2 separate regions of the Homo sapiens genome follow, and region 1 is linked to region 2. Evidence: promoter capture Hi-C in human tissues and cell types (Jung and others, 2019). All regions are on one chromosome and are shown on one strand. Each heading gives the region's core, a stretch centred on a gene start or on the middle of the fragment in contact. The rest is flanking DNA. Distances are from core to core; before and after follow the strand shown. Region 1 overlaps DNM3 (dynamin 3). Region 2 holds the start of C1orf105 (chromosome 1 open reading frame 105).

Evidence for each region. The method cuts DNA at HindIII sites, captures the fragments that hold promoters and counts their contacts. A contact is called where the count stands out against the background at its distance.
Region 1: a contact is called between a fragment that was not itself captured here and the fragment with the promoter of C1orf105 in region 2, in 2 of the 25 tissues and cell types used here (aorta and hippocampus).

Annotation. Positions count from the first base shown.
Region 1 is chr1:172,349,911-172,353,433 of GRCh38, forward strand. The region is part of intron 17 of DNM3 (dynamin 3); the gene reads left to right. Among named protein-coding and RNA genes, the nearest start is that of C1orf105, 69 kb to the right of the region's middle. The HindIII fragment of the contact is 7,147 bases long and covers 1-3,523 here.
Region 2 is chr1:172,418,740-172,421,992 of GRCh38, forward strand. C1orf105 (chromosome 1 open reading frame 105) reads left to right here and starts at 1,946. Exons shown (of 7, transcript NM_139240.4): 1 at 1,946-2,167. The coding sequence starts at 2,147. The region is part of intron 1 of LOC102724528 (a long non-coding RNA gene); the gene reads right to left. The HindIII fragment of the contact is 11,853 bases long and covers 1-3,253 here.

The sequences.
Region 1 (3,523 bases), core at 717-3,216, 69 kb before region 2:
AACATAGAAGCACCAAGCCCTCATGTATATAGAAAACTCATGCTAAGGCCAGAAGAAGCAGAAGGAGAGTCAGAAGAAATATACCAAAGTGGTAAACATGTATGCTGTGCTATGTGTGCCCACATAATACATAGGAAATGCTAAATTGGTATCGATTTCTGAAAATAAAAATGCCTGTTCTTTTTTCAAATTATGCAATCCTGATAAGCCTACTAGGCATATACATATATATCCTTTTAACTAATCACGTTATCATTTTTTTCCAACAAAGAATATAATAAATGAAAGTCACCTTCTGGGTGATTAGTGGCAGTTGACTTGGAGTTTCAGCCCTTCCTCAGGACTTTTTGGCATAGTAATAACATTGCAAAGTTGCTCACATTTTTCATACCCTTCCATTTTATCTTGTGTGTGTGTGTGTGTGTGTGTGTGTGTTTGTGTGTCTTGTATGTGGAATATTCTTACAGCTAGTGACTTAATATGCTGATGAACACAGAGAGCTGGATTTTTTTTGCAAACCAATATTTTTGTGCCATTTGATTATTTAGGTGATATTCAGCCTTTTCAAAGATTACTTAACTGTCGTGGTATCACTACAGAGGAAGAAAGGAAATTCTGTAGTTAGTTTAGGAGAAAACGTAACGTAAAACAATTCTTCAAGGAACCTAGCAATGCAATAAAGTATCTAGATAATCTTTTAGAATATCAGAGCCTGGGGTATGCTAATGAAATCATGGGAGAAGAAAAAAGCTCCAGTTCTCACTCACATTAAAAGTGCTCTCTTTTACACAAGACACAATTCATAAAATCTTTTTATATCAGCAGGGAACTCATCTATCTGTATATACATGGAGGCAGGCAGCTGTTAACAGCATAGCATGACACTGCTGAACAGTTCAGGATGCAGGATAAGGAATATCATTCTATCATTCCCAACTGAAACAACATCAGAAAATGTAGACAGGCTAAATAGAATTATCCAAAATGGAGCCTGTCTGAAATTCCAAGTCTCCCAGAGACAAAAGTACTATTCACCTCTTCTTCCTTTCTATGGCTGAAATTCATTTGCATCCACTGACATCCTTTAAATTATTACCCTCCTGGGAAAGTCTGCAACCCTTGTAGAACACTTATAAACATTCAGTTGTTTCTGATCAGACCTGTGTTGTTTGTAGTTCTCCTGACTCATATTTTAGTATCTTAGGAAGGAAAATTTAGTGCCACAAATGTTTACCATCTATATTCTCTTGGTTTCTGAGACTTCCCATGGCAATTAAAAAAATTTAGATATTACACCTTTTGCTTCAAAGGTCATAATTCCAGAAGTATGACTCTTATCTGACCTTTTAGAATGATAAATCTAAGAAATTTTTGTGTTCCAGAGAATGAATACACAAAATGGGAACTAGTGAGTTCCAAAGCTTCTGCTATAGAATAATTGATGGTTTTCTCCAAATATTTGTTAAAATTTTAATATAATAAATACTAGGATTTTTTAAAGTAAACTTTTTTAGCAATAAGAATTTAGCACTTCCAAAGCAGCCACATGGTCTGTTGCCCAGGACTCCCTTAAAAATTGCTTTGCTGAGGCTGTTCAACATCTGTCAGCATTTTCTGCATAAACCATTGGCTCAAAAAAATTCTTCAGGCTGAAACTTGATATATCAGGTCTCAGCTTAGCAGTTTTTATGTGTTTTCAGGAAAATAAGTTTGGATGTTTTCAAGTTAGTGCTAGAGGAGAAACACATTCTAATACACCATTTCAAGACACCCTTTTATTTTATACATGGGTGAAAGGAAAACAGACTTCTACCCAACTAAAATGGACAGAAAATATCTAAACAATTGTTGTGAAGTTTTCTTCACACTGTATTGCTAAACAGGATGTCTTTATTGGAGCTATGTGACTACATTCTTCATAGAATGGCATATGGAACTCTGCCCAGCTTTAATGCCAGAGGTCAGAATGTGCCCACCTCCTGGCAGCTGAGGATGAATGGCTTAAGTGACAAATTCCGATCCGTCAGCTTCCCAGATCATTGAACAGCCAAAGGAGACTAATACAATAAACAACAGTTTGCCAAAAGGCATCATGATCCACTGGTGGATTGTGGTTTTACACAGCTTCAACATACATTATCCTGACGTCTAAAATTACATCTCAGAGTACAGCTGTGTGTGTAATACTGGACTTCATTCCACTGGATGATCCCATGTTGTCCACTTACAACAGGAATGCACTTTTGAACCTAGAGCTGTCACTACAAATCTCACTGTGAGTGTTAAGAATTCATGAAGAAATTCCAATTTATTGATTTGCAAGGATTTGCCTATGAAGGTAGAGAGATTGTATCTTAAAATTGCCATTCCATTAAAGGCTAAAAAAGTCATTTCAATGACTAAAGTTCTTATATCTTTTAGTTGACTATTTGTAAAGTGAACTTTTTTTTTCTTTTTATATGAGTGTTAACTGGAAATAGGCAAGGAATGAGCAGGACTTTAACATTCTAGTCCTCTGTGTCAGCTGTCTGTGTTACAGAATTTATTTGAACTATAGAGTCCCTAAATCACTACAGCATAAGCCTCAGGGAAAATAAAAACTCAAAAATGTATAAACAAACTATACTAAAATTGAGCTACTGAGCACCTTAGTATACTTGCTTCCCTTTAGTTAACGTATTTTCACCAACAAGGGTGTGTCTTTCAAGGCTATCTGGAGTATACCTGTGGTTTTAGAAATACCAAGTGACTCACCTCCAGTAGTTACAGTGGTAAGGAAAAAGTTGTTACCTCTTTCCTTTGGTGATTCTGGTGCACATTTGGAAGATACAGCTCAAAGCAATCAATACCCTGGGCCTCTGGCTTCTAATATATTAATGTCTGCTCTCTGGAAGACCCATATGCACCACCTGCCCTCTGAATCCTGAGTGATCCAGATCCTTTGGAGGACTTAAGTAAATAAAAATTAAGAGCAAAACAAATGGTCTTGAAAATCCTTTCCAATAGACACAAGCAAACACAATAGGGATCTGATCATTTCACTTTCCTAAATTTTCTGTTTCCCCATTCAGCACAGTGGAGGAGGACCTCTGAGATTACTCTTCTTTTTCAAATCCCCACCTCAAGGTATTCTCCTCACACTTCCGCCACCCACATACACCCCTGATGCTCCATCCACCAAGCAGCCATATCCACAGGCCACAGGTGCACCATCCTCTGCCCTGTTTCTGCACCTTTGCATGTGTAGTTCCTCCTGCCTGCAAGATGCTGTCATTTATTCTATACCGGATGAACATCTTCCTACCCATCAAAACCCAGATCACTCTCTGATACATTCTTTCTGCATTCCATGGAATATATAGATTTGACTGTTACTGGTTTATAATCAAATTTGTCATCTTTCTTCACAATAGTCCTAAGGTTTATGCCAGTCTTGTCCCTGTCTCACTAATAATGAAATTAAGATTTGTAGATATAAAATAATATGACACATATTAAAAGCACTCAGAAAGCTAAGGGTTTT
Region 2 (3,253 bases), core at 696-3,195:
GAATCCCATTTTTACTTATTATTGCACCAAAATATTTTTTCCTATTATTGTTTTTCTAAACACTCTTAAGGGAGATAAAATGTAAGATCATAGAAGAAACTGTAGAGCAAAAACACATAAACCTCATAAATTCTATATGGCAAATGTAAGGGCGAAAAACCACATCATTCAGAATAAAAGTACAAGGCAAGGAAATGTTGCCACCTTGAGAAGAAAGACTCTTCATGATGTCAGTAAAGCACTAGAAAAATGGAGTCCATATAAGTTTGAAGGAATAGAGAACTTTTTATTCCTCTATCCTCAAATGGTAATTCTAACACTAAAATTTTAATCTATAATTTTTTAACAAGCATCCCAAAGATGTATCCAAATAAAATGTTTATTATTTAGGTAATATAGTACATTCCACCAAATATGTGATCTGAAGCCTTCCCAAAGGTTTAAGATTTAATTCAGAATTTTATTTTTTGAAAATTTATGTGGCCTAAAATAGAACTTGAAAGTAGTCCTTCTCAAATGAGATCACTTCTGAATGTGCTCCCCTTCAGCATATTAAGATGACAGAAAACTACATGACAAGAGAGTCAAAAAAATCATTCATCAGTTCTATTTACTTCACATCTGACCTAGGCAAGCCCTGGCAAAGGAGGTATTTGGAAGATGTGGGCAGGAACCCCCAGTTGTAAAAGGGAGAGTCCTCATTAGTAATGCTGTTTCTTCGGACCACAAATTTTTTTAAGGACTGAGTTCTCCACTCAAAAATGAAAAATCAGTTTCTTGGTTTAAAATGTTCATATGGCATGTTACATTATTTTAATTGTATCCCCGGTCCAGTGACTACCATTTAAAATCAGTGATAACTAAGAAAGTTCAAAGGCTCCAAACCAAGGCATCAACTGAAGCTCATGTATAGCAGGAAGGAGGTGACTTGATGTAAAATAGCACATAGCATGCAGTCTTTTGTCCTTTCCTTCCCCTCCAGTCCAGGCATTTGATTTTTAAATCAATATTCTTAGTGGATAGCATTCTTCATCCCAATAGACAAAAATGTACCTAGATGATTTCATACCACCTCCCCAAATGAAAACCGAAGTTGTCAAAGAGAAGGTTTTCTTCAATTCATTTTTTAAAAGTGTTTGGTACTTTTCCACTTTGTCTTAAACATGGACTTATTTTTATATGCAGTGTTACACAGTTTAGATGTATAAAACTTAAATTGACCTGATGAATGATGAGAAGGAAAAACTCCAGTCATAACAGAATGAAATGACAACCTTACTCAGTTTTCCTTAACAAAGAAGTGTGTTCCCTTCCTTACATTCTATAGGCAAGAAAAAAGAGGGCAGGGGAAAGGGATGGGGGGCAGCCTGGAGTAAAATTAAATTATGCTAAGATTTGTTAATATGTATTTAGTAAATAGTATTTCTATGTTTCATAATATACCTTTCCCCAACTCTTCTTACCTCCACCTCCACCCTGCTATGTTTAATAGACTTGAAAAATTACTCCCTTTTTCAGAGTTGATCATAACTCAGGATAGTCAGGAAGAGCCAAACTATTATGCCTTTAGTAAACATAATATTCCTTATATATTTTCATTCCTTTATTTATGCATCAAACATTTCTTGAATTCATGATAATGTCCTGGACCCTGGGAATACCAGAGAAGTAACAGAATAAAAGTAGCTTACAAAATAGCTAAATAAGCAATTACAATGTAGTGCTACAATAAGAGAAAAGTTTGGTTGTCTTTCCAGGGAGAACTGTTCTGACTTCAGTACTGAAGCAGCTATCTGAGTTTTAGTATACTGTTATCAACTTTACCCAACACATGCTAATGTTCCAGAACATTGTGATTTTGACTTCTAACAAAGAAAGGAATACTAGAACTCATTTCAGCCAATCAGAAACTGAGCTTTTCATTCTGAATGGAATTATATGATTCAAGATGTAAATCACACAGATGTTGGTAGAGAAAAAGGCATACTGGTATTGAAACTGTAAACTGGCCTGTTTACTTCGTCTCCTAACAAAAAACACTTTGGATTCAGGTTCTCCACAGCAGTCTTCCACTGGCCACAGTGAGGGGAGCTAGGTTTCCCCAGTCTCCAGCTAGAAAAACTCAGAACATCTAAAGATCTGAAAGATGGAAAAAAGAGAACTAAAGGTAGGAAAAAAATAAATGAAACTTCCAATTCTTTCCTTATGGGGTTACCCTGGTAAATGTTTGTATGCCTTGGAGGCCACATAAACATTGAGGGGTGTTTCAACAGACATCCTAGAAGTTGAAAGCCAAAAGAAGGTAAGGAAATAACAGCTGATGTTCAGTTACAGGTGAAGATAATTTTAATGGGTTTGGGGCATGATAAATTTCAATGCTCTTTATCGTATAGTTTGGAAAAAATGTTGTACTTGCCAACATCTTTTATAACTCAGCATTTAAGTATGATTTTTTTAAATCCTCAGAAAATTGATACCAGATTCTTTAGTGCAGTTCCCTGAGATTCTGAAGTAAACCTTCTCAACTGTGAATGCACTTTAAAACAATGAATCTCAGTCACAGGAAGTTAAGATTGCTGAGAAAGAAAAAAAAACTTGTATAGACTTTTATAATTACTAGGGTCTAAATCTGAATAAATCACATTGAGCTTATGACACTGTATGTTTCCTATTTAAAGGGATATACTAGCTGTCTCTATTACCATAGTACAGGTGCTCCTTGACTTATGATAGGGTTACATCTCAATAAACCACCACAAGTTGAAAATATTGTAAGTCAAAAATGCATGCAATACCCTGATGAACCCATGATAAAGTAAAAAAATCCTAAGTTGGGGAGGACGCAGAGCAAGATGGCCAAACAGAAGCCTTCACTGATTGTTCTCCATGCACGAACATCAAATTTAACAACTATCTACACAAAAAAGCACCTTCATAAGAACCAAAAATCAGTGATCACAAAGTGATCACAGTACCTGGTTTTAACTTCGTATTGTTGAAAGAAGCACTGAGGAAGATAAGAAAGACAATCTTGAATTGCTGACACCACCCCTCCCCCATCCCCTGGCAGCAGCCACATAGTGTGGAGAGAGAATCTGTGCACTTGGAGGGAGGGCACAGCGATTGTGGGACTCTAGAATTCAGTGCTGCCAATACGGGGCAGAACTTAGCTGTTGCCAATGGAGGGACCATTTAGACCACCCTTAGCCAGAGGAGAATTGCCCATCCCAGGTTTCAGAAACTGAGTTTTGAC